Regions from separate parts of the Homo sapiens genome. Here all the other regions are linked to region 6. Evidence: promoter capture Hi-C in 16 types of primary human blood cells and fetal thymus (Javierre and others, 2016). All regions are on one chromosome and are shown on one strand. The core of a region is centred on a gene start or on the middle of the fragment in contact, and the rest is flanking DNA. Distances in the headings are between cores, read along the strand shown.

Region 1 (3,776 bases), core at 639-3,138, 360 kb before region 6:
CTTAGTCTGGTATTAATATTGTCATCTAGCTTTTCAATAATAGTTTCATAGTATATAATTTTCCATATTTTTTAACTGTGGCTTTACTTTTATAGTACATTTCTTTTAGACAGACTATAGTCAGGTCTTGCTTTTTATCCACTACAACAACATCTGCCTCTATATCAAAGTATTTAAAGTACTTATATTTCATGTAATTATTATGGTTGGGCTTGAGTCTGCCACACTTCTACTTATTTTCTAATCATCCCATTCTCTGGTGGCTTTTAGTGCTTATTTTTTATTTTGTTATTATGAGTTAAGTATATGACATGGTGTTTGTTGTTGCATGTTTTAGTAAATCTAAGACATTCTCAACTTTTATTCATTTGAATATTATCTCTCCTACATAATCAATTCTGCTCTTTCAGAGCTCCTACTTGCCATGGAGGTGCATCTCATTCTAGCCTCCATGTCATCTTTTAAATTTTCTATACAAATTTGTACAGTGATGATTTACTTTATCTTCTATACCATTTTTTTAAACCTATAGTTTTCCAATTTACCTACCTAGTATAGAGTTTTTTCTTTGAGGATGTACTTTTAGATTCTTTATAAAATCCAATCTATTCTATTTTTTCACTATTTCTGGCTTATAAGTTCTATTCTCTACAGTTTTACATATTTTAAACATATCTACCTTAAAGTCTCTTTGTTACCAGTTCTCAAGTTGTTAGTTCTATGATTTTGGCATCTGCTGAATGTGATTGTGGCTTCTCCTGTGGTATATAACGTCTAACAACTGAGTTCATCTTCAGAAAGATTTATTTTCATACCATGCATTATGATGGTATCCTTATAAAGTGTTTCCTGTACATGCATTTGCTGAACTTTATGGACTTCATTAGTTCTAGACCAGTTTTAATTTGCATGAATTCAATCTTAATCATTTGACAGAATTTTGTATAAGCAAACACATTTTATTACACTCTACAGCACCGTGAAGATATTGCATTTTTAAAAAATTGAAGGGGCCGGGCACATTGGCTCACGCCTATAATCCTAGCACTTTGGGAGGCCAAGGCGGACTGACTGACTGAGCTCAGGAGTTCAAGACCAGCCTGGGCAACACAGTGAAACCCCGTCTCTACTAAAATACAAAAAATTAGCTGAGCATGGCAGCATGTGCCTGTAGTCCCAGCTACTCGGAAGGCTGAGGCAAGAAAATCACTTGAACGCGCGAGGCACAAGTTGCAGAGAGCCGAGATTGCGCCACTGCACTCCCGCCTGGGTGACAGGGCAAGACTCCATCTCAAAAATAAAAAAGAAAGAAAAAATTAGAGGTTTATGGCATCCCTGCATCGAGCAAGTCCATCAGAACCATTTTTCCAATAGTACACGCTAATTGCATGTTTCTGTGTCACATTTTGGTAATTCTTGCAATGTTTCAAACTTTTTCACTATTATTATATATATTATGGTAATCTATGATCTTTGATGTTACTATTGTAATTGTTTTGAGGCGCCACAAACCATGCCCACAAGACAATGAACTTCATCAATAAATGTTGTATGTGTCCTCACTGCTCTGCTGACCTGCCAGTTCCCCATCTCTCTCCTCCTTGGGAGTCCCTATTCTCTCAGACACAATATTGAAACGAGGCCAATTAATAATCCAACAATAGCCTCTAAGTGTTCAAGTCATGTTTCTCATTTTAAATCAAAAGCTTAAAATGATTAAGCTTAATGAGAAAGAAATGTTGAAAGTTGAGATAAGCTTAAAGCAAGGTTTTTTTGCACCAAATAGCCACATTGTGAATGCAAAGGAAAAGTTCTTGAGGGAAATTACGTGTTACTCTAGTGAATATACAAATAATAAGAAAGCAGAACAGCCTTACTACTAATATAGAGAAAGTTTTAGTGGTCTGAATAGAAGATTAAACCAGTCGAAACTTTTGCTTAAGCCAAAACCTAATGCAGAGCAAGGACCAAACTTGCTTACATTCTACGACACAGGTGAGGACACGCAGAAGAAAAGTTTGAAGCTTGCAGAGGTTGGCTCAAGAAGTTCAAGGAAGGAAGTCATCTCCATAACATGAAAATGCAAGGTGAAGCAGCAAGTGCTGATGTAGAAGCTGTAGTAAGTTTTATTCAGGACCTAGCTAATTGATGAAGATGCTTACACTAAACAGCAGTAGTAACATTCTATGTGGATAAAACAGCCTTCTATTGGAAGAAAACATCATCACAGCAAAAGAGAAGTCAATGCCTGGCTTCAAAGCTTCAAAGGGCAGGCTGACTTTCTCATTAGGGGCTAATGCAGATGGTGACTTTCAACTGAAGCCAATGCTTATTGACCATTCTGAAAATCCTAGGTCTCTTCAGAATTATGCTAAATCTATTCTGCCTGTGCTCTCTAAATGGAACAACAAAGCCTGAATGACAGCACATCTCTTTACCATATGGGTTACTCAATATTTTAACCCAGCTTCTGGGACCTACTGCTTAGAAAAACAGATTCCTTTCAAACTATTACTATTCATTGACAATGCACTTGGTTACTCAAGAGCTCAGATAGAGATGTACAAAGAGATCAAAGTTGTTTTTCTGGCTGCTAACACAACATCGATTCTGTAGCTCATGGGTCAAGGATTATTTTTGAATTTCAAGTCTTGTTATTTAGAAAAACGAGGCGGGCGGATCACGAGGTCAGGAGATCGAGACCATCCTGGCTAACACGGTGAAACCCCGTCTCTACCAAAAATACAAAAAATTAGCCGGGCATAGTGGCGGGCGCCTGTAGTCCCAGCTACTCGGGAGGCTGAGGCAGGAGAATGGCATGAACCCGGGAGGCGGAGGTTGCAGTGAGCCGAGATTGCGCCACTGCACTCCAGCCTGGGCAACAGAGCCAGACTCCATCTCAAAAAAAAAAAAAAAAAAGAAAAAGAAAATACATTTCATAAAGCTATAATAGCTGCTGTAGATAGTGATTCCTCTTATGGATCTGGGCAAAGTACACTGAAAACTTTCTGGAAAGGATTCACCATTCTAGATGCCATTCATAATTCATGGGAAGAGGTCAAAATATCAACATCAACAAGAGTTTGGGAGAAGTTGATTCTCACCCTTATGGATAATTTTGAGGGATTCAAGACTTCAGCAGAGGAACTGCAGATATGGTGAAGACAGCAAGATAACTAGAATTAGAAGTGGAGTGTGAAGATATGCATGAATTGCTGCAATCTTATGATAAAACCTGAATAGATACGAAGTTGCTTCTTATGGATGAGCAAAAAAAGTGGTTTCTTGAGATGAAAATCTACTCCTGATGTAGATGCTGTGAACACTGTTGAAATGTAAACAAAGGATTTAGACTATGACATAACCTTAACTGATAAAGCAGCAGTAGGGTTTGAGAGGATTGACTCCAATTTTGAAAGAAGCTCTAGTTTGTGTAAAATGCTATCAAACAGGCTGGGCGCGGTGGCTCATGCCTATAATCCCAGCACTTTGGGAGGCCGAGGCAGGCAGAACACCTGAGGTCAGGAGTTCGAGACCAGGCTGCCCAACATGGTGAAACCCTATCTCTACTAAAAATACAAAAAAAAGTAGCTGGGTGTGGTGGTGGGTGCCTGTAATCCCAGCTACTCAGGAGGCTGAGGCAGGAGAATCGCTTGAACCTGGGAGGCGGAGTTGCAGTGAGCCGAGATTGCGCCACTGCACTCCAGCCTGGGCAACAACAGCGAAACTCCGTCTGGAAAAAAAAAAAAAATTGCTATCAAACAGCACTGCATGCT
Region 2 (4,159 bases), core at 1,569-4,068, 470 kb before region 6:
ACATTAAAAAGAGTAAAATAGGGCTAGGCATGGTGACTCACACCTGTAATCCCAGCACTTTGGAAGGCTGAGGCAGGTGGATGACCTGAGGTCAGGAGTTCAAGACCAGCCTGGCCAACATGGTGAAACCCCGTCTCTACTAAAAACACAAAAAATTAGCTGGGCGTGGTAGCGGGTGCCTGTAATCCCAGCTAGTCGGGAGGCTGAGGCAGAAGAATAGCTTGAACCCGGGAGGCGCAGGGTGCAGTGAGCCGAGATCGCGCCATTGCACTCCAGCCTGGGCGACAAGAACGAAACTCTGTCTCAAAAAAAAAAGTAAAATGAGACCTAGCCCATCTCAGAGTAGAAACAATAAAAAACTCAGACCTGTTACCCAGAAGCAACAAAACATGCAATAATATTACATCATTTGGATTTTTCTCAAGCACAATTATCAAAAGCAAATTTCTTCTTTGTTCTATTAACATGTTTTATAATATGAGAAATCATTCACTGCCTCCATTCATTTCTTTCTTTTAAACATTATAAGCCATTACCCCCTAGAATACTTTTTGTTTATAAACTATGAAAGTTATTGCTTTGAGCAAAATCAAATTAAGATTCTATATGGGTAGAGATAATTCAGACTCTTATGGCCAGAAAGGACCCATCCAAGAAGATGTTTAAAACCACTCTGGGGAAGTGCTGAAGATGGCCAACTAGCTGCAGCCAGGATGAACATCTGCTGCCACCAAGAGACTGGGACATTAGGAAGCCTGGGGCATTCTAAGCAGATCTTTGGAGGGAAGGCATTCAGAGTGGATGAAGGGAGGACAAAGATGCTGGACCAAAGGGGTAGGAAGCTGGGGATCCAGCACAGGGCTACCGTGCACAGGTATTCATTCTTGGCCCCCAACAACTCCAAAGGAAGGGAAACAAAGTCAGTTGACTAAACTCACCTTATACCACAATCAAACCCCCAAGGGCATCAAAGAAGATAAAAACAAACAAACAAGCAAGCAAGCAAAAAAAAAAAAAAAAAAAAACCACACATCCAAAAGACAGCAACTTCAAAGACTGAATGCTCAGCTCATACAGATGAGAAAGAACCAGTGTAAGAACTCTGCCAATTTAAAAAGCCACAGTGTCTTCTCACCTCCACACAACCACACTAGTTCCCCAGCAATAGGTCTTAACCAGGTTGAAATGACTAAAATGACAGAAACAGAATTCAGAATATGGATAAGAATGAAGATCATCAAGATTCAGGAGAAAGCTGAAACCCAATAAAGGATTCTAAGGAATACAATAAAATGATTTGGGAGATGAAAAATGAAATGGCCATTGTAAGAAAGAACCAAAGTGATCTGATAGAGCTGAGAAACTCACTTTAAGAATTTCAGAAGACAATCCAGTATTAACATCAGAATTAGCCAACTGGAGAAAAGAAACCCAAAGCTCAAACACTGGTTCCCCAAAATAACTCAGACTAAAATTAAAAAGACTCAAAAAAGAACAAACAAAACCTCTAAAAAATTTGGCATTACATTAAGAGACCACATCTACATCTCACTGGTGTCCCTGAAAAAGAGGGAGAGAAAGCAAGCAACGTGGAAAACATATTTTAGGATATAATTCGCGAAAATTTCCCCAGCCTCACTAGACATGCCAACATTCAAATATAAGAAATGCAGAGAATGCCTCTGAGATACTATATAAGACAACTATGCCCAAGACACATAGTCTTCAGATTCTTAAAGGTCGAAATAAAAGACAAAATAAAAGACAGCTGGAGAAAAGGGACAGGTAACCTACAAAGGGAACCCCACAGACTAACAGTGTACCTTTTGGCAGAAAACCTATAAGCCAGAAGAGATTGGGGGTTTATATTCAGCATTCTTAAGGAAAAGAAATTCTAATCAAGAGCTTCATATCCTGCCAGATTAAGCTTCATAAATGAATCCTTTTCAGATGAGCAAATGCTAGGAATTTGTCACCACGAGACCTGCCTTATAGACACTCCTTAAGGGTGTGCTAAATATGGAAAGGAAAGACCATTACTAGACACCACAAAAACTCACTTAAATACATAGGCCATTAGCCCTACAAACAATTACACAATCAAGTCTGCATAATAACCAGGTAACAATCCGATGACTGGATCAAATCCACACCTATCAATATAAACTTTGAATGTAAATGGGCTAAAAGCCCCCATTAAAAGGCACAGAGTGGCAAGTTAGATACAGAAGAAAGACCCAACTGTATGCTGCCAAAAAGAGAACCATCACATGTGCAATGACACCCACTGGCTAAAAGTAAAGGGACAGAGAAAAATCTACCAAGTCAACAGAAAACAGAACAAAACAGGGGTTGCTATTCTAACTTCAGACAAAACACACCTTAAACCAAAAAGATTAAAAAAAGATAAAGAAGGGCATTACATAATGCTAAAGGGTTCAATTCAACAAGAAGACCTAACTATCCTAAATATATGCACCAAACATAAAAGCACCCGGATTCATATAGCAAGTTCTTAGAGATCTACAAAGAGACTTAAGATAACCACACAATAATAGTAGACTTCAACACCCCACTGATAGAATTAGATCACTGAGGCAAAAGACTAACAAAGATAAAATCTGAACTCAATATTAGACCAAAAGAACCTGACAGATATCTACAGAACTCTACACCCAAAAACAACAAAATATATATTCTTCTCATCTGTACATGGTACATACTCTAAATTCCATCACATAATTGTCCATAAAACAATCCTTAGCAAATTAAAAAAAAATAAAAACAATAGCAATCACACTACTGAACCAGTGCAATAAAAATAGAAATTGATAGTAAGAAAATCACTCAAAAGCATACAATTTAATGGAAATTAAACAACCTATCCTGAATGACTATGGGGTAAATAATAAAATAAAGGCAGAATTAAAGCAATTCTTTGAAACTAATGAGATCAAAGATGCAATGTAACAGAAACTCTGGGACACAGCTTAAGCAGTGTTAAGAGAAAAGTTTATAACACTAAATGTCCACAGCAAAAAGTTAGAAAGACCTCAAATTAACAATCTAACATCACACATCACACCTAGAGGAACTAAAGAAACAAGAAGAAACCAATTACAAAGTTAGGAGAAGACAAGAAATAACCAAAATCAAAGCTGAACTGAAGGAAACTGAGACATAAAAAAATATACAAAAGACTGAGTCCAGGAATTAGTTCCTTGAAAGAATATGACTGATAGACTACTAAGTAGACTTAAAAAAAAAACAGGAGAGAAAGAGAGAGAGATAGCTCCAAATAAACACAGTCAAAAATGACAAAGGGGACATTACCACCAAACCCACAGAAATACAAAAAACCCTCAGAGACTACTATGAACACCTCTATGCACAAACTAGAAAACATAGAAGAAATGAATAAATTTCTGGAAACATACAACCTCCCAAGATTGGACCAGGAAGAAATTTAATCCCTGAACAGACCAATAGTAAAGTGAAATTGAATGAATAATAAAAAGCCTACCAACCAGACAATGCCCAGGACCAGATGAGCTCACAGTTGAGTTCTACCAGATGCATAGAGAGGAACTGGTATTGTTCCTACTAAAACCATTCCAAATGCTTGAGGAAGAGAGACTCCTCCCTAACTCATTTTATGAGGCCAGCATCATCCTGACACCAAAACCTGGCAGAGACACAACAAAAAATGAAAGCTTCAGGCCAGTATCAATGATGAACATGGATGCAAAAATCCTTAACAAAATACTAGCAAACCAAATCCGGCTGCACATCCAAAAGCTAATCCTTCATGATCAAGTGGACTTTATCCCTGGGATGCAAGGTTGGTTTAATATATACAAATCAATTAATGTGATTTACCACATAAACAGAACTATAAGCAAAAACCACATGATCATTTCAACAGATACAGAAAAGGCTTTCAATAAAATTCAACATGCTTCACGTTAAAAACCCTCAACAGGCTGGGTGTGGTGGCTCACGTCTATGATCCCAGCACTTTGGGAAGCCAAGGCAGGTGGATCACTTGGGGTCAGGAGTTTGAGACCAGCCTGGCCAATATGGTGAAACCCCATCTCTACAAAAAATACAAAAATTAGCTGCGCGTGGTGGCCCATGCCTATAGTCCCAGCTACTTGGG
Region 3 (3,754 bases), core at 641-3,140, 400 kb before region 6:
TATTAAATATGTACTTGAAAAACATTACTTCTCTTCCCCATTTCTTCTCCCCCTAGAGCCAATTAGGTAAGAGTATAGTAATTGTAGGATGGCTTCCAGATATGCGACTGGTCTATTTGGGTAGATCAAGGCACCATTACCAAGGAATAATCTAAAGAGGAAAAAAGGAACAATTTTGTGGTACACTGCATTTAAAATAATCTGTGGGACATCAAGGTTGATACAGGGAAGACTGCAAGGCTTAGGAGGGAAGTCTGGGCACAAAAGTAGCTGGCTATGATCTTGGGAATATTTCTCTAAAACACACTGTTCATTTGTAAAGTGAGGAAAATACCACCTATCTCATCTATTTCACAAAACAGAAATAGGATGTACATAAATACTCTCTCTGTATGTAGTTTTTTGGGGATTTTGTGTGTGTGTGTTTTTGTTTTTTGTTTCTGTTTTTTTTTTTTTTTTTTTAGACAGGGTCTCATTCTGTTGTCCAGGCTGGAGTGCAGTGATGTGATCATAGCTCACTTTAACTTTGAACTCCTGGGCTCAGGCAATCCTCCCACCTCAGCCTCCCAAAGTGCTGGGTATAATAGCATGAGTCACCATGCCCAGCCATGTTTTGTAAACTGTAAAACATTCTAAAATCATGGAGTAGCATTATTAAACTGTAGGAAACAAAATAATAAATAAGTATTGAACATATATTCAATAATCTCTTACAAATGGTAATGTTAGGGACAAAAATTGGACCAAAATAGTAAGTTGCACTGTCCTAATATTACAGTTTATTCTTTGTGGAGATTTTGTCCCCAGCTTTTTAAAAAAATTTCCATCTAGAGAAAACTTGAAAGAAAAGTACAATGAACATCAATGTACCTTTCACATGGATTCAATAATTGTTAATACTCTGACAAGTTTACTTTCATCCTTTCTGGCCAAATACATATACCATTTCTTTCACATTTGAAGGTAAATTGCAACCTTATAAACATACACAATTATTATGTGTCAATTAAAAATAAAACAATTTTAAAAGAAAGTAAATTGCAAGCATTATGACACTCTGTCCCAGCATTTAATCTTAAGAATAAGGATATTCTCTTTATAACCACAATATCATTATCAAAGTCAAAAAAATTAATATTGACTCTATATTGCAACTACAAAATAGTACATATTTGAATTCTTCCAACTCTTCCAATTGTCTCTTACAAGTGTATGTTATGTTTCTTTTTTTTTTTTTTTTTTTTTTTTGAGATGGAGTCTTGCTCTGTCGCCCAGGCTGGAGTGCAGTGGTGTGATCTCGGCTCACTGCAAGCTCTGCATCCCAGGTTCACGCCATTCTCCTGCCTCAGCCTCCCGAGTAGCTGGGACTACAGGCACCCGCCACCATGCCCAGCTAATTTTTTGTATTTTTAGTAAAGATGGGTTTCACTGTGTTAGCCAGGATGGTCTTGATCTCCTGACCTCGTGATCTGCCCATCTTGGCCTCCCAAAGTGCTGGGATTACAGGCGTGAGCCACCGTGCCCGGCCATATGTTATGTTTCTTGTTCTTGTTTTGGATCTAGATCTACTTGGGGATCACGCATTGTTGTATTTAGTTGTCTTTTCTCTTGGTCTTCTTGAATCTGGAACAACTTCCCCACCTTTTTGTTTGCTTTACATGCCACTAACAATTTTAAACTATTTTATAGAATAACCTCCAATTTCGACGTGCCTGGTTGCTTCCTCATGATTAGATTCAGTTAAATATTTTTGGCAAGAATACTACATAAGGGATTTCTTTCTTTACAAATATTTTTAAATGTTGATTTGAATATGGATTATATGTTTTCTACAAAAAGAGTAAAACGCTAGTCAAGTAACTTCTATTGTATAAACTCAAAGACAACAATTGAAGGATAATTACTAGATCTAACATTGACCTATAAAGTTTGTACCAAATACATACCCAATCTGGAAAGTAAATTCAGACCTCAACTTTATGAAAATAGTAAAAGATAGGGTTGGGAAAGGGGAAGCTCCTTTTTTTTTTTTTTGAGACAGAGTCTCACTCTGTCACCCAGGCTGGAGTGCAGTGGCGTGACCTCAGCTCACTGCAACCTCTGCCTCCTGAGTTCAAGTGATTCTCCTGCCTCAGCCTCCTGAGCAGCTGGGACTACAGGCGTGTGACACCATGCCCAGCTAATTTTTTGTATTTTTAGCAGAGACGGGGTTTCACCGTGTTAGCCAGGATGGTCTCCATCTCCTGACCTTGTGATCGGCCCGCCTCGGCCTCCCAAAGTGCTGGGATTACAGGCGTGAGCCACCGCGCCTGGCTGGATGCTCCTTTATACAATGTGTCCCTTAAAAACATAAAGCACCTCTATCATCCCTTAAAAAAAAATCAAATCATAAAGGCATGCACAGCTTTTTAAACATATTTTGGTATATCACAACAGGATGGTTTTATGGGCTGAACCATCTGGGGTAAAGCCTGCAGATACCATCAGATGGTGGATGTTTCTTTAAAAAATAAAATAAAATGAAGAATCTATACTTGAGGATATTCATCAACTGATATTTTCAAAGCTCTGAATTGTTTAACAAAAAATTTTATCCTATGAAACTCATGTAAACTATAGTATTAACATATATTACATTAACTTATAATTTTACATGTTAATATAAAATTTTACATTACTTTTAATTTTACATGTTAATGTAAATATAATTTTACATGTTAATGTAAAATTGTAAATTACAAATATATAATTATATATAAATATAAGCTATGTTTTGTTATATATATAATTTTACATTAACATAATTTTACATGTAGAATTATAAATTAAAAATATATATATTTTATATAATTATAAAAATTAAATTATAAATTATAAATACACATTATTCTGCAATTTCTATAGAAAATATCTGTGACAACCAGCTGCTCCCACAGATGTTACTGGGTTTTGCAAATATAAACATTCTAAATAATGTAATTTTCTCTCAGAGAAATAACATGCAGAGGATTTTATTTTGAAAACTCCTTAAATGTGATAACTATAAAGAACACATCACTATTACTATCAGATTTAGTAATAACTCTTTCAAAATTGTAACAATAAAAGTATCCAAATCAGATTCAAATTCAACTCTGGCCAATCCATCAGATGGTGTTCTTTATACACTAACACTGGAAGCTGAATATATGTTTCCAGTATTCACTACCAAATTATAAACCCCTAAGATCAATGTTTGTGACAAAAACACAAGGGGGAAAATATCCAACTTAACTGTGCTACCAGGCACACCTATGACCTCAGGTACTGCTTTTTTTGATGTGATCAGAGCACAAAGAATTCTACTGCAAGAAGCAGAGAAGTTTTCTTCATAAAAATAAATATATGTTTATTATATTTATTACCCTGCTGCTTGCTTAATGACTGCATATTTTGTTGGCAACTGTGCAAGAAAAGCAGAAAAAAAAAGGAGTTCATTTCATTTCTACTATTATTTTTACAAACAAGAAAAAAATCAAGCTACTGCCTACTTATGAGATGCATTTGGTTGCATTAGTTTACAATGACCCCAACACCAAGCAAATGGTCACACACTCCAAGTTCACATACTCCCGCTAAAAATTCACAATATTTGTTTGATATGCAAAGAAGTCTGGTATTAATAGACTTTAGTCGCATTTCATATTTATAAATTACTATTTCTCCAGGTGCTTTATTCAACCAGAATTTCATAAGGCCATGATCACTAATAATA
Region 4 (3,810 bases), core at 1,290-3,789, 380 kb before region 6:
ATGCAATGGTGCGATCTCAGCTCACTACAACTTCTGCTTTCCAGGTTCAAGTGATCCTCCTATCTCAGCCTCCTGAGTAGCTGGGACCACAGGCATGCGCCACCAAGCGGGGCTAATTTTTGTATTTTTTGGTAGAGACGAGGTTTTGCCTTGTTGACCAGGCTGGTCTCAAACTAAGTGACCCACTCGCATTGGCTTCCCAAAGTGCTGGGCCTATAGGCGTGAGCCACTGCACCAAGTCTAAATTTTTATTTTCTTTTAAATATCCAAGTCGTTAAGCAGCATATGCTACTTCTTTCAGAATTAGCATGAAGCCTCTAAATTGGTTTTCCCGCTGTGAGCTGAATCCCTATTTCATTTAGTTTATTTTCTAAAACATATATTTATACTGCCAATTTACATAAGTAGTACTAGATATCAAAAAACAGTACATATTAGCCACATTTCCAAATTGCATTCAACCATGGGCACCAGCGTGTTCTGCTAGATGATTAACACAGCACATTTTTACTGGGTCCTAAAGCCTCTGAACTGTTGTCTACCATAGATTTTATAAAACAGATGTTTCTTTCATGCAATAAAGTAATTCTAGAACTAGATTATAGGAAAAGTGATACAACAGGTAGAGCAAGATCCAATGTAAAAATAAGCAGAAGGTAAAATTGCCATCAAGAAAAACTGTGAACCTCAAAAGGTTTCAATTTGATCAGGTAAACCAATGTGAGTTTAGTGAACTGAAAATTTCATGTTTCTAAAAACTGAGATTTTCCTCGGAAAGGTAAAAAAAAAAAATTCTTTCATAACTATTTAATTATAGTTTAGCAGTGTTTTATCACCCCAAGTTTTCTCCTGAGAATCAGAACCGATAAAAACTTTCAAATAGGTTAGGCTATATAATGAGCTTTCCTTATATAGAATGGCACAACCAAATATAAACAGGAAAGAAAAAAAGATTTGTATGACATGCTTAGAAAAAAAATGCAAAGAAAAGATTCATGAAAAGTATTTCTCAAAAAAAGCCACAATAGGTAGAAATCATGTAATTTTACTAGTTAGATATCAAAACTAACCCTTTCTTATTCCTTGGGTGTCTGGGTTGTCCCGCTCTTTCCTCAAACCTTATGTTTGCCAGACAAGAAAAAGTAATATCAGTAAGAGTCAGAAGTCTTAACAGCAAAGACGTTCAAATATCCAAACAATAGAGAAAGAACAGACCTAAAAGTAAGCTTGCTAATAACTCAATCAGTCAAGTATTCATTAGGCAATTACTATATGTCACAGACAAAATTAATAAGAAACACAATTCCCTTCCTCTAGAACTGAGAATCTATTTGAAAACAAAGCAGAAATGTATTTAGAGTAAAGCACTACTATGTGATTACAGCCAAAGCTCAATATGATATTATTTATAAGTGGTAGGAAGAAAAAAGCCAGTACAGAGAAGAAAAGCATACTAGGTAGGGAAAATGTGATAAGTAATCTTAAAATGTGGTTTACCGCTATGACAATTCCTCATGAACTGACAGGCCTGGGTTCAAAACTTTACCCCTTAACAGCTATGTGAGCTTGGACAGTTTACTTAACTTCATTAGCCCTCAGTTTCTCATCTATATAATAAAACTAACATTTACCTATTTACTTTTGGGGACTGCTGTGAGGATTAAGTGAAATAATGTAAGTGTATCACTGGATATGATGCCTAACACAAAATAAACCCTCAATTAAAGAAGAGACAATAGAAGATGGAATGGTTGTCAGGTTAAAAAACAGAGAAATTGAAAAATTTTGTAAATAATGGGCTGTAGCAAAGAAGCAGAAATTGATATGATGAGCTATTCTTTCACAGTAACTTATCTTTTGTTGTAGCAAGCATCTGTGCAAATATAAACCAGTGTCTGATAGCCACTGATGAAGGGCAGTGCTCAATGCTTGGCTGCTTTCGGATGAGGACAGAGACTCATTATTATCAATGGTTAGTCTATTCATTCATAAAACTGCAGGTGTTCATAACACTGTATAAAGTAGAAAAGCAGTGCACATTTGAGGACCTCTACAGCCACATCCTGAGCAGAGTAGTGGAACTGCTACATGAAATTTTAGGGCAAACATTAAGATATGTTCCTTCAAAAGTGAAAATTGGAGGAAATTTCTCAAAGTACCTCAATGGATCTTAAAATGAGGCAGATTATGTGCAGTACAATTTTCCTTAGTTTTGACTCTTCAGTGTATATGACTGTACTATAAGCTTCTATTAGTACAAAATTATCTTCGAGGACTAAAAATTCCATGACAATATAGAAACACATATGCGGATTTGTTTCACTCTTGTAGGTTGAAACATGTAGTTAAAGACAAATATAAGCACTCTGAATAGAGTCTTTCTTCAGCAAAACAGCAATGTCAGCACAGGCAGCAAACTACAGCAGAAATTGAGTGCAAAGTTCAAAAATCATTTCCTAAGAGTATCAAGTACTTAAAACGTAGTATGGCTAGGTTAATGTTTACTTTCACTTTATTTCACTTAACATTGGGTTATCAAGTATATGTCAGATATCTTTCCCTGGATCTGCTACAGATTATTGGAAATTTTAATTTATTGAAGGAGTTTCATATCTAGAGACCGTGTGTAAAATAAGTGGCAGAGCATCTTCTCCTGCCATCATCTACACTATAAAGTTGTCAAAATAATTTTTAATAGTATGTATACAAATGTTTCAAACTTATGAAGATCTATTAAAAATCTGTACTACTATTTATAATTGACTGCTATTCATTGAATTTTAACAAAAAATTAGGACAAAATAGATCCTTCAGAAATACTTCATATATCATGGAAGCTTGAGTATAATCTAGGGTACAAACCCTTCATTTTATATGAGGAATTCAGAAGTTAGAGAGAAGTAACTTAGCCAAGGCCATACTCAATAAATTACTAAGAGGTCTGAAAAGCCAGGGCTCTTCATTCAATTAATGCAGTGTGTTTACCACTATAGCTAACATTTTGATTAGTCAAAATTACACAAGCCATATAGATTTTTATTCTCCCCTGACCCAAATTCTTCTATAGTGAAAACAGAAAGTGAGACGTGGGTCAATTCTGGGGCCCAGATTAGAATTTATAATGTTCATGTAGCACACTTCCACGGAAAAAGACAGCCCTTTGGTAAAAGATTCTAACTCACTGTCACTAGTTCTTCCTTATGTACTTACCTTTCTGGGTATAAATGGAAAATACTCATCTCAAGGGAGGAATCTCAGCTGTAATGACATTCATCTTCTCTTAACTCTAAGCGCAGGACAATGTGAAAAATGGTAACAGTCAGAGGGAGATAACCTTGGGACAGACCTACAGGGTTCCTGTCAAGTAAAACAGTAGGCTGAGACATTTCCTAAAAGTATTAGTACATGTAACTTTGTTTTCAGAATTTTGACATATATAATCTAACCTGCAGTTACCCCAAAATAAGTGGAGCCAAGTGTAGAGTACTTAAAACATAGAGTTTGGAATACCTCTTTTGCAGACAGCAGCCCACATAACAAAAATAATGTGCCAGGTCTGGGAAAGTGACTAATAATCAGAACTCCTAGGACTGGGCTCTATTTTCCTATAGAATAGCTGTTATCAGTGTGTTTAGATCTACAAAATAGCTAAAATATTTGCAATCACCGTTTTTTTAGGAAGTTACTTTGAGCATCCCTAATCCAAAAATCCAAAATCCAAAGTGCTCCAAAATCCTAAATCTTTTGAGTGCCAACATGATGTTCAAAAGGAAATGCTCGATGGAACATTTTGGATGATGTTTGAAAGGA
Region 5 (4,037 bases), core at 188-2,687, 430 kb before region 6:
ATGGGAAGAATACTAAGGACTCAGAAAGTCTAAAGTCTGAAACCAGGCTCTCCCATTTATTAATTTTGTAACCTTAGTATATTCACTGAACTTATCTGAGCCTCAGTTTCCTTATCTGTGTAATACGTAATTGTATAATGAGCTAAACATTACATACTCAGCCACAAAAGTCCTACCTTTTTGTTTCTCAAAGGCCTGTCTGGCATAGTGTCTGCACAATAAAGGCACTCAATAATTATTTATTAAAGGAATTAATAATAGAGGAATACAAAGAAAAGTCACCTATTCAAGACTTAAAGCAGGCTCAGAAACACCTGGATAAAATAATGCCTCACCTGAGGCTGAAGAATGAGTGAAAAGTAGCAAGATGGGGAGGGGATTCTATACAGAAGGAACAGTGATACAAATCCACTTTTCAACCCTTTCCTTTCCCAAAACCTTAGATTATTAAATAGTTAATTTATCTTGGAGAAGTTAGCAAGTGACCTCAATCTTATGTACAGCAAACTCTGTACATAAATAAATAAAATGTAATCCAGAATAAAGGTACAATAAAAGTATAATTTGGTAAAGGAATAGAGAATAGGGAAACAGATTTTTGACTGTGATGATTAAGGAAAACTTTAGGGAAGAGGGAACATTTGATCTATGCTTCAAACAATGGGAAGATACAGAAGCAAAGGAAAATTCCAGATTCCAACATGTTCAATTTTGAACATGTTAACTTTCAGGTCACAGGAGAATATCAATTGTTCATATAATAAATGTGTATTAATTGCCAACTATGTACCAAGCACTATGCTAGACAATTAAGACATAGTGATGAACATAAGACAGCTTGCCTTCTACGTAGGACCAAGTATATTCAACAATTAGTTTTACTATGAAAAATTCAGCTAATACCAAAATGGAGATGTCCAAAAAGTAACTGAAAAATCACAGCTACGTTCAAGAAAGCAACATCTGCTTAAAGGCAAATAAACGAAGCCCTAGAAATATTTTAATTCACTCCCTCACTCAGCTATCTTCTTTGTTGAAGAAAAAGGAGATGAAGATAAAATCTGGAGTAATTCATTAAAAACAAAACAAATAAAAATAAAAATGTAAAGGACAGACAGGAGGAAAAAGACTGGGAAAGTGTTACAGAGGAGGCAAAGAAGAAACTATAAGGAGCTATTACACAAAAGCTAGAAAATCTGAAAATACACTAAAATTATGAGGCCTAAGGTTATTAGACATAGTTTAAAACAGTTTAACAATAACTAAATTATAAAAGCTAAAAAGATACATGGGAAACTAAGAATAATTGACTCTCTTAAAACATTTGTGTGAAAAGCATAAAGACAGAAACTGTAAGAAGAACAGCTGCAGTAAGTTTTTGTTTGCTTTTTTTCCCTCCATAAGAATATTGATTTCTTGAGTTTATAGAATCCACAGGAAAGAGAGACAAAAAAAGCCACAAGAAACAGGGATAAAATTGAAAGTTTGGTTAAATACAACACTCTTACCAATTGCCTATTCATTGCCAAGCACTACGCACTACTTTGTGGATAGCCCAGTACCTGATCTAGGGCTCAGGAGAGGGGCTCAGATGGAGGGGATACTTTTAGAAAAGAGATCAATAAGATCTGGACTGTAGACTAAAAATTATACTGAGTTTATTATAAGAACTATATCACTTGCTAAATACTAACTATCTCATTGCTTAATATTATTTTTGCTAGGAAGATATTATATCTCTCACTCTATAATAGGAAAATGATAGACTGATTAAATATTTGGTCAAAATAATAGAGAACAGAATCAGGACAATATCTCCATTTCTGAGACTGACTCAAACAACTATGGTGGATCATTATCATACTGTAATGTATTTTAAGAAGAACATCTTGCCTTGACCTAGTTTATACTCATTTGAAACTCCATTTTGGTATAACTATTACTGCCTTCATGCTAATTATGTTCATATTTTTAATCCAATTAATGTACCTCAATCAAAATCCAGCCCCTAAATTCTGTTTAGCAAAACTGACAACGAAAACAATACCCTCTAAAATGCCATCTTCCATAGCACACTAAAAGGCATGTAAGGTATGCATAAAATACAGTGGAAGCCAATGTCAGAGATGACCAAAGGAGCCTTAACAAAAGGGGAAAATCATGACATTCATGGTGGGCTTTAGACCTTTTGGGGGAAGGAAATGGCAAAAATTTCTATAAATCTCATTGTAACATCACATATGAAAGGAAACCAAGTCACTGGTAAATTGGTAGATTACAAAACAGTGGCATGTAATATAAATCATACCCTACATGGAATGCTAGGATATCCTTTCTCTAATATACAGAAAATCTTAACTTTAGTCCTTTTTTGTAAACAAAAGACCCTTAAAGAAAATGGCAATGACAAATTTTTAAGAGGAATGAAGATGAGACAGGGATGTAGAGACAGCATCCAAAAGCCTCAAAAATAACTTATGAGTAAAGGAGTTGTGGTAACAATAATGGCAGCTAACACTGTACCATTTTTATTAAATGTGAGGCATTTTCAAAGTACATTACATATATCAATTCATTTAACTCTCACATTACCTCAATTTTACAGAGAAGGACACCAAGAAAACAAAGAAGAAAACTGTCACAACAATGGGTAGGCAAATGATGAAAAATAAAGAATTGCTAAATTGGACATTAAAATTCATAGTGTTTGCCCTTTGAAAGATACCATTAAGAAAATAAAAAGACAAGCTGCAGACTAGGAAAAAGTATTTATAATACATGTATCTGAGATAGATTTATATTAAAAATTTATAAAAATTCTGGAGACTTAACAAGACAAGTCAATAAGAAAATGGGGGAAAGTCAATAAGAAAATGGGGGAGACAGACACTTCTCAAAAGAAGGTATGTGAATGATGAAAAGCACATAAAAAGATATTCAAATTAGTCATCAAACAAATACAAGCTAAAACCACAATAAGATACCACCACACACCCAATGGTTAAATTAAATCAGATAATACAAGTATTAGCAATAATATCAAGCAACAGAACATCTCATACACTGTACAAACAACTTTCAAAACTGTGTGATAGTTTGATATACAGGTAAACATGTGACGGAGGCAGCCGACACCAGTGGAAGCACATACCACAGCCCTGCTTCCACCACTACCCCACTCCATTTTATGTATGTGCACCCTGCCACACTACCACAGCTGCTGAAACACAAATGAACGCAGAGCCCACTAACCCGCTGAGACAAAGGGCATTGGCTAGCACCACCCATGGAGGTGTCATGGCCAGAGGATTGGGAACATCTCAGAAGCTCCAGTACAGCATGTTCCTAACCTCAAGAGTCCAGACAAGAATGCCGGGGGCCTGGTGTCAGGCCCCTAAAGTGAGAGCATGAAGCCTAGGAGGGATGAGCTTAGCCCTAGCTCCCTAAAATCTTTCACAAAGGAAGTGACTTCACTGAACTCACCTTATACTACAATTAAACCTCCAAATGCATCAAAGAAGACAAAAGCAAAAAAACAAACAAACAAACACATTCAAAGGATTAGCATTTTCAAAGATTGAAGGAATATCACCCACAATGATGAGAAGGTACCAGTGCAGCAAGAACTCTGGCAACTCAAAAAAGCACAGTGTCTTCTCACCTAAAAACAACCACACTAATTCCCCAGTACTGGGTCTTAACCAGACTGAATGGCTGAAACGAAAGAAACAGAATTGAAAGTATAAATAGAAACAAAAATCATCTGGATTCAAGAGAATGTTGAAACCCAATAAAAGGATTCTAAGGAATACAATAAAATAATACAGGAGATAAAAGACAAATGGCAATTGTAAGAAAGAATCTGATAGAGCTGAAAGACTCCAACAATTTTAAAACACGGTCACAGGTGTATTAGTTCATTCTCACACTGATATAAAGAATTACTTCAGACTGGGTAATTTATAAAGAAAAGAGGTTTAATTGACTCACAGTTCCACAGGCTGTATAGAAGGCATGGCTGGGAAGTCCTCAGGAAA
Region 6 (3,712 bases), core at 2-2,501:
CAAGACTTCGTCTCTACCAAAAACAAAAACAAATGCAAGGCATGGTGGTGTGCATCTGTAGTTCTAGTTACTGGAGAGGCCTGAAGCAGGAGGATCACCTGAGCCCAGGAGGTTGAAGCTGCAGTGAGCCTCGATCAAGCCAGCCTGGGTGACAGAGTGAGACCCTGTCTCCAAAACAAACAAACAATGTCTACAAATTCTAGCACTGTGTAAATATTATGTCAAATAATTGTATAAATTATTATTAATAAAAATTTCTTTAGGTTTGACAATAATTTGTGGGGTAAATTTTCTCACTTTGTAAAAATTCCAGGGTACCTCTGATTTCTGGTAAATTTAGCCAATCATAAATTAAATGAGTTCTTGGAAGCTCAACAATTCCAAAACCAAAATTGTGAGTCAGTTTGTTCTTTCTTTCCTTCTTTCCTTTCTTTTTCTTTTTCTTTCTTTCTTTCTTTCTTTCTTTTCTTTCTTTCTTTCTTTTCTTTCTCTTTTCTCTTTCTCTTTCTCTCCCTTCCTTCTTTCCTTCCTTCCTGCCTCCCTTCTCTCTCTCTCTCTTTCTCCTTCCTTTTTTTTTTGAGACTGAGTCTTACTCACTCCCTCGCCCACGCTAGAGTGCAGTGGCACAATCTGGGCTCACTGCGCTGCAACTTCCACCTCCCAGGTTCAAGCGGTTTTCCTGCCTCACCCTCCCGAGTAGCTGGGACTACAGGCGTGCACCAGCACACCTGGCTAGTTTTTGTATTTTTAGTAGAGATGGGGTTTCACCATGTTGGCCAGGCTACTCTCGAATCCCTGACCTCAAGTGATCCACCCGCCTTGACCTCCCAAATTGCTGGGATTACAGACGTAAGCCACCACGCCTGGCCCAAAATTATGAGTCTTTTCAAAAATTTTATATCAAAAAGGTGATATTTAATGTGGAATTTGAGTGCATTTAAATAAGATAGTGACTTCGTAGAATAGGGACTGCAGAGTAAGAGTGTTCAGACCCATTCGAGTTTAATATAGCCCTACCTCTAAGAATCCTTTCTGTTCCTCACTCAAATGAACTAATTGCTGTCTTTCAGTTCCTCTAAAAACCTTGGGGTCCGTGGCAGGGTGTGGGCTTAGGACTCACCTGATTACTTGTCTTCCCAGGTGGTCTCTGGGCTCTATCAGGAACAAGCCAGGTATGATCATCCTTTTCCCCAGTCCTTAGCGTGGGGTCTGGTATACACACGCACACACAACTTCAGTAAATGGTGAATGAAACGAAAGGCAGTCAAGATCCACCTGTTGAATGAACGTCTATCAGGAGCACTGTCATCCTTCTTGCTTCCTTCTTTTGCATATGTTGTTTGAGCTGCTCATTCAACCAAGGAGAGAGCATACTCTACCTTGGGCAGTGTGCCAGCCTTGCACAGAGGGACAGATGATTCAGCTTGATCAGGCTGTGACAGAGAAAAGCTCAGGGTCTGAGAGCACACAGGATGCGACTAACCCAGACTGGAGGGTCAGGAGAGTCTCCCCAGGGGAAATGAAGTTGCATCCAGAAGGATTCCTGAGAATAATGATTAGCCTGATGAGAAGCAGAAAGGTTGGGAGTGGAGGGAAGTGGGTTTCTGTGAGAGAAACAATATGGACAAAGGCCCCAGGCAGAGGCAATAGTATTCCAGATAACGAAAAGCATTTTAGAGAGTCTAGTTTAGAATTTGTGAAGGAGGTGACAATGCTGCTAATGAGATTGAAAGGGAGTCAGATTTGTAAACCATTTAAGGATTGTCTTAAGGACAGCCTTGAGGAGACACTGAAGGTTTTAACAGGAGAATGACATGATCCGATTTAAATTTTAAAAAGATAACTCTGTCAACTGTGCCAACAGTGAATTGGATGTGGGCAATGATGAACTCAGGAACAGCTGAGAGTCTATTGCAGAAGCCAAGGTGAGAGATGATGGTGGCTTGGACTTTGGTGCTGGGACTGGAAAGAAATGAACAATCTGATATACAACTGGAAGAATAATCTCTCTGGCTGTGATGTGGAAGGATAAGGACGTGATTGGACAGGCAGGGATGGTTCAGTAACGAGCTAGGACTTTATTGTGAAGGGATAAAGGGGAAGCTTTTAACATTTTAATCATGGGACTGATCCATTCCGATATGGGTTTATATAAATAGACCGCTTGGCGGAGGGTGGTGAGAAGACTGTCAGGCAGTGCACAGGTAAGAACTGAGCCCTAGACGGGGCAGGAGCAATGAATGTGGGGAGGCGCGGGAGACGGGAGATTGGTTTCGGAGCCAGGTACGGAGCCAAGCAGTCAGAGAGAAGCAAAAATTGACGCAGCACCGAGAACAGCTGCTAGTGGAGAGGGGGATGGGCGCCGCCGGAGCCGCCCTCGCCTCCTGGCGCCGGGGGCGGGACCAGAGCACGCACGGCGCGATGACGCAGTGCCCGAGCCGGCCTCGTTCTGGCTGCCGCCGTCTCGCTGAGGCGGAGTAGGATGAGGCCCGCGGCCGTGGCTCCGGCGTCGGCGGGGGCAGCAGCAGCTGAGGCAGCAGCTGAGGCAGCCGCGACGGCCGCGCCCCCCCCCGCTGACCTGGATTAGGCCCAGCAGCTCCGTGGCCGCCGCCGCCCCGCGGGGGGGCGGGGTGGGGAAGTGCTTCGTCTCCCCGCCCCCCCCCCCCCATCGCTGCCTCGCAGGAGGCGAACGCCGCGACCCCAGCGGAGCCCGCGGCCCAGCCTTGATCCCCCAACCCCGGGGGCTGGCATGAGCGGCCCCTCGGCGGCACCGTGGGGCGGTGGAGTCGCCTCCGCCTGATCCCCGGCCTGTCGCCCGACCCCACCTCGCCAACCGAGGCGGACCGCGGAGTGTGCGAACGACCCCACCGCTGCTTTCTCCTCCCCCAGATCACGCACCCCAGCTCCGGAAGATGGGGAACTGCCTCAAATCCCCCACCTCGGATGACATCTCCCTGCTTCACGAGTCTCAGTCCGACCGGGCTAGCTTTGGCGAGGGGACGGAGCCGGATCAGGAGCCGCCGCCGCCATATCAGGTAGGGGAGGGTGTGTGTTGGGGGGAGCGAGTAGAGGCAGCTCTGGCGGAGATTGAGGGGGCTTCGGGGCCGTCTCTGCCCCTGGCTTCGGCAAGGCCTGGCCTGGGCGGCATTGACCCCTTAGGGCTGGATCTGAGGGCATTTGCTCTCTGATCTCAGAGTAAGGTTGATTCTTCGCCTGCCCTCGGGCACCGTGTGGGGATGATACCCTCTGCCCTTGAGTTCTGGGATCAGAGTATGTGATCACATCCCCTTGGCCAGTGTCTGGTGGTTCGCTTGTGGAGTTTGGGAGTGACATTTTCCTGTCTTTATGTCTGAATCGTATGATTTCCTCATCGCACCGCCAACTGGATTATGGGTTCTGGATAGGTGGTTGCCAAGCACCACCCCCCCGCCCCATTTATGTTTTCATGTGTGGTCGTCCTCTTACCCACCTCCCTCGTCTTTTTGTTAATTGGATCTGGCAGGTTTTCCCTCTGCTTGGGAGACGGATCTCCAAGTGGTGATTTTAACCCTAGCGACATCGAGTTACTTGTGTGTGTGTGTATATATATATATATGTGTATATATATATATATATATATGTATATAAATTTTAATCCCTCCTCTTTTTGCTCCACCCATATGACACACCTTTTAAACGTGCTGACTTAAGAAAACTTGATTAGCTTGAACTT
Region 7 (3,612 bases), core at 409-2,908, 450 kb before region 6:
TTACCGAACATTTAAAGAATTACTGCCAAGCCTTCTCACACTCTTCCGAAAAACTGAAGGAGGGAATACTTCCTAACTTCTTTCACGAGGCCAGCATTACATCAATACCAAAGCCAAAGAAGCTATCAGACGAAAAGAAAACTACAGTCCAATATCCCTGATAAATACAGATGCAAAGATCCTCAACAAAATATTAGCGAAACTAAATTCAACAGCACATTGAAAGTGAAACTAAATTCAACAGCACATTAAAAGGATTACACACCATGGCAAAGTGAGATTTATCCCTGGGATGAAAGGATTATTTAACATAAAAAAATCGGCCAGGCGCGGTGGTTCACGCCTGTAATCCCAGCACTCTGGGAGGCTGAGGTGGGCGGATCACTTGAGATCAGGAGTTTGAGAACAGCCTGGCCAACATGACGAAACCCCATCTCTACTAAAAATACAAAAATTAGCCAGGCATGGTGGCTGTGTGCCTGTAATCACAGCTACTGAGGGGGCCGAGGCATGAGAATCACTTGAACCTAGGAGGCGGAGGTTGCAGTGAACCAAGATCACACCACTGCACTCCAGCCTGGGTGACAGAGTGAGACTCCATCTCAAAAACAACAACAACAACATATGAAAATCAATCAATGTGATACACCACATTAAAAGCAAGAAGGATAAATGTCACACAATCATCTCAATAAACAAAAAGCTTTTGACAGAAGTCAACATATTTTCATAATACTGAACAAACTAGAAATAAAAGGAAATAACCTCTACATAATAAATGCCATATATGAAAGTCCCACAGCTAACATCATATTCAAGGGTTAAGAACTAAAAGGTTTTCTTCTAACATCAGGAACAAGCTAGGATACCTTCTCACCACTTCTATTCAACGTAGTACTGGAAAGCCTAGATAGAACAATTAAGCAAGAAAAACAAAAGACATCCAAATTGGAAAGGAAGAAATACAACTATCTTTGTTTACAGACAACATGATATTATATGTAGAAAACACTAAGGATTCTACCAAAGAAAAAAAAAACTTAGAACTAATAAATAATACAAAATTCATCAATCTTTTATAAGATGCAAAATCAACACATAAAAATCAGCTGCATTTCTATATACTAACACTGAACAATCTGAAAAGAAAATTAAGAAAACAGTCCCATTTACAATAGCTTCAAAAAGAATAAAATGCTTATGAATAAACTTATCCAGAGACAAAAGACTTGTCCACTAAAAACTACAAAACATTGCTGAAAGAAATTAAAGACGACACTGGAAAAGCTTCCCATGGTCATGGACTGAAAAATTTAACATTGTTAAAATGTCCATACTATCCAAAGTGATCTGCAGATTCAATGCAATCTCTATCAAAAGCCCAATGGTATTTTTTGCAGAAATAAGGAAATAATCCTAAATATCATAAGTAACCACAAGGAACTCCAAACACAATTGTGAGAAAGAAGAACAAAGCTGGAGGCCTCCTACTTCCTAACTCCAAAACATATTACAAAGCTAGAGTAATTAGATCAGTTTGTTAGTGGCATAAAGACAGACACACCAACTAATAGAACAAAACTGAAATCCCAAAAATAAACCCACACGTATACAGTCAAATGATCTTTGACTAGAGTGCCAAGACCCCACAATGTGGAAAGGATAGTTTCTTCAAAAAATGGTACTGGGAAAACTGGATATCCACATGCAAAAGAACTTGGAACCTCATAACCTCATAACATACACAAACATCATCTCATGGTATTGTGTGAATTAAAGACATAAACATAAGACTTGAAACTATACGAGCAAAGACCTTGCTACTGTCCTCCAGCCTGGGTGACAGAGCAAGACCCTATCTCAAAAAAAAAAAAAAAAAAAAAAAGACTTGAAACTATAAAACTTGTAGAAGAAAGCAGAAGAGAGGAAATGCTTTATAACACTGATCTTGGCAATGGTTTTTTGGAAATGACTCCAAAAGCAGAGGCAATGAAAGAAAAAATAGACAAGTGGGACTTTATCAAATTAAAAAGCTTCTGCACAGAAAAGTAAACAACAGAGTAAAAAGGCAACCTACAGAATGAGAGGAAACATGTGTGAACCATATATCTAATAAGGGGTTAAAATACAAAATACAGAAAAACTTCTATAACTCAACAATAAAATATCAAATAACCCATTTAAAAAAATGGACAAAGGACTTGAATAGACATTTCTCCAAAAAAGACATACAAATGGCCAACAGGTATATGAAAAGATACTCAACATCACTAATCAGACAAATATAAATCAAACCCACAATGAGCTACCACTTCACATCTTTTAGGATGGCTACTATACAAAAAAAAAAGGAAAGAAAAGAAAAGGGAAAGAAAAGAGAAAAGAAAAACAGAAAATAATAAGTGTTAACAAAGTTGGGGTTGGAATGTAAAATGGTGTAGCTGCTATAGGAAACAGTATGGAAGTTCCTCAAAAAATTATAAATTAAACTACCATCTAATCCAGCAATCCCACTTTTGAACATACTGCCAACAGAATTGAAAACAGGATTTCTATGAAATATCCACACTCCCATGGCTGGGCACAGTGACTCATGCCTATAATCCCAACACTTTGGGAGTCTGAGGCAGGAGGATCACTTGAGCCCAAGAGTTCAAGACCAGCCTGGGAAAGAAAGTAAGTGAGACTCCTTCTCTACAAAGAAAAAAAAAAAATTAGCCAGTCATGGTGGCACACGCCTATAGTCCTGCTACTCAGGAGGCCAAGGCAGGGGGACTGCTTGAGCCCAGAGTTTGAGGCTACAGTGAGCCGCGATCACGCCACTGCACTCCAGCCTGGGTGACAGTGTGAGACCCTGTCTCAAAAAAAAAAAAAAATCACATTCTCATGTTCATTGCAGCGTTATTCACAACAGCCAAAAGGTATAAACAACCTAAATGTCCATTTATGATGTTAATGACTAAAAAAAATGTGATATATACACACAATGGAATATTATTCAGTTTTTAAGAAGAAGAAAATCCTGCTATATGCTACAACATATATAAGCATTGAGGACATTATGCTAAGTGAAATAAGCCATCACAGCGGGCAAATACTGCATTATTCCACTTCTATGAGGTATTTATAGTCAAACTTACAGAAACAGAAGATAGAATGGCAGTTGCCAGGAGTTTGAGGGAGGGGAAAATGGAAAGTTGCTATCCAATGGGTACAGAGTTTCAGTTATGTAAGATGAAAAAGTGCATAAACAATCTTGTGCTGTACACTTAGAAATATATTGACAGGCTAAATCTCATATTATGTGTTTTTTACCAAAATTTTTTTAAATAAAAAACAATCTACAGGAGAATATTTGGGGGCATGCAAATGGGTACAGGGTGAAGGGGTTTATCTAGAAGAATAATCTACATAGAAGAAGAAACAAGTATAAAGGCCCAGACCTATTTGGTAAACTGAAATAAGTCCATTATGGCATAGGCATAGTGAACTAGGAGAGTGGTGATAGATGAAACTAGAAATGCAGGTAGGGGCTTGATCAAACAGGGACTTATAGGCCATGTTAAAGATTTGAATTATATCCTAAAATCAATGGAAAGCTTTTGAATGGCT

Evidence for each region. Contacts are between HindIII fragments. The CHiCAGO score rates a contact against its expected background, and 5 or more counts as called.
Region 1: a contact is called between a fragment that was not itself captured here and the fragment with the promoter of LINC01562 in region 6, in 2 of 17 cell types (activated CD4 T cells and total CD8 T cells). The highest score is 5.3, in activated CD4 T cells.
Region 2: a contact is called between a fragment that was not itself captured here and the fragment with the promoter of LINC01562 in region 6, in 12 of 17 cell types (fetal thymus, naive CD4 T cells, naive CD8 T cells and 9 more). The highest score is 9.4, in fetal thymus.
Region 3: a contact is called between a fragment that was not itself captured here and the fragment with the promoter of LINC01562 in region 6, in 1 of 17 cell types (M2 macrophages). The highest score is 5.6, in M2 macrophages.
Region 4: a contact is called between a fragment that was not itself captured here and the fragment with the promoter of LINC01562 in region 6, in 2 of 17 cell types (megakaryocytes and M1 macrophages). The highest score is 6.6, in megakaryocytes.
Region 5: a fragment that was not itself captured here is called in contact with the fragment with the promoter of LINC01562 in region 6 in 1 of 17 cell types (naive CD4 T cells); the score reaches 6.5 in naive CD4 T cells.
Region 7: a contact is called between a fragment that was not itself captured here and the fragment with the promoter of LINC01562 in region 6, in 5 of 17 cell types (naive CD4 T cells, M2 macrophages, megakaryocytes and 2 more). The highest score is 9.7, in naive CD4 T cells.

What each region holds. Positions count from the first base shown.
Region 1 is chr1:50,869,164-50,872,939 of GRCh38, forward strand. The region is part of intron 1 of FAF1 (Fas associated factor 1); the gene reads right to left. Among named protein-coding and RNA genes, the nearest start is that of FAF1, 89 kb to the right of the region's middle. The HindIII fragment of the contact is 268 bases long and covers 1,755-2,022 here.
Region 2 is chr1:50,765,788-50,769,946 of GRCh38, forward strand. The region is part of intron 4 of FAF1 (Fas associated factor 1); the gene reads right to left. Among named protein-coding and RNA genes, the nearest start is that of FAF1, 190 kb to the right of the region's middle. The HindIII fragment of the contact is 1,786 bases long and covers 1,926-3,711 here.
Region 3 is chr1:50,835,728-50,839,481 of GRCh38, forward strand. All of the region lies in intron 2 of FAF1 (Fas associated factor 1), which reads right to left. Among named protein-coding and RNA genes, the nearest start is that of FAF1, 120 kb to the right of the region's middle. The HindIII fragment of the contact is 4,774 bases long and covers 1-3,754 here.
Region 4 is chr1:50,851,132-50,854,941 of GRCh38, forward strand. The region is part of intron 2 of FAF1 (Fas associated factor 1); the gene reads right to left. Among named protein-coding and RNA genes, the nearest start is that of FAF1, 110 kb to the right of the region's middle. The HindIII fragment of the contact is 592 bases long and covers 2,244-2,835 here.
Region 5 is chr1:50,803,336-50,807,372 of GRCh38, forward strand. All of the region lies in intron 2 of FAF1 (Fas associated factor 1), which reads right to left. Among named protein-coding and RNA genes, the nearest start is that of FAF1, 150 kb to the right of the region's middle. The HindIII fragment of the contact is 6,777 bases long and covers 1-4,037 here.
Region 6 is chr1:51,233,845-51,237,556 of GRCh38, forward strand. It overlaps LINC01562 (long intergenic non-protein coding RNA 1562), which reads right to left and starts at 1,252. Exons shown (of 2, transcript NR_147076.1): 1 at 1,121-1,252. It overlaps RNF11 (ring finger protein 11), which reads left to right and starts at 2,429. Exons shown (of 3, transcript NM_014372.5): 1 at 2,429-3,035. The coding sequence starts at 2,913. RefSeq lists a silencer at 2,214-2,693. The HindIII fragment of the contact is 11,293 bases long and covers 1-2,101 here.
Region 7 is chr1:50,783,271-50,786,882 of GRCh38, forward strand. The region is part of intron 4 of FAF1 (Fas associated factor 1); the gene reads right to left. Among named protein-coding and RNA genes, the nearest start is that of FAF1, 180 kb to the right of the region's middle. The HindIII fragment of the contact is 746 bases long and covers 1,286-2,031 here.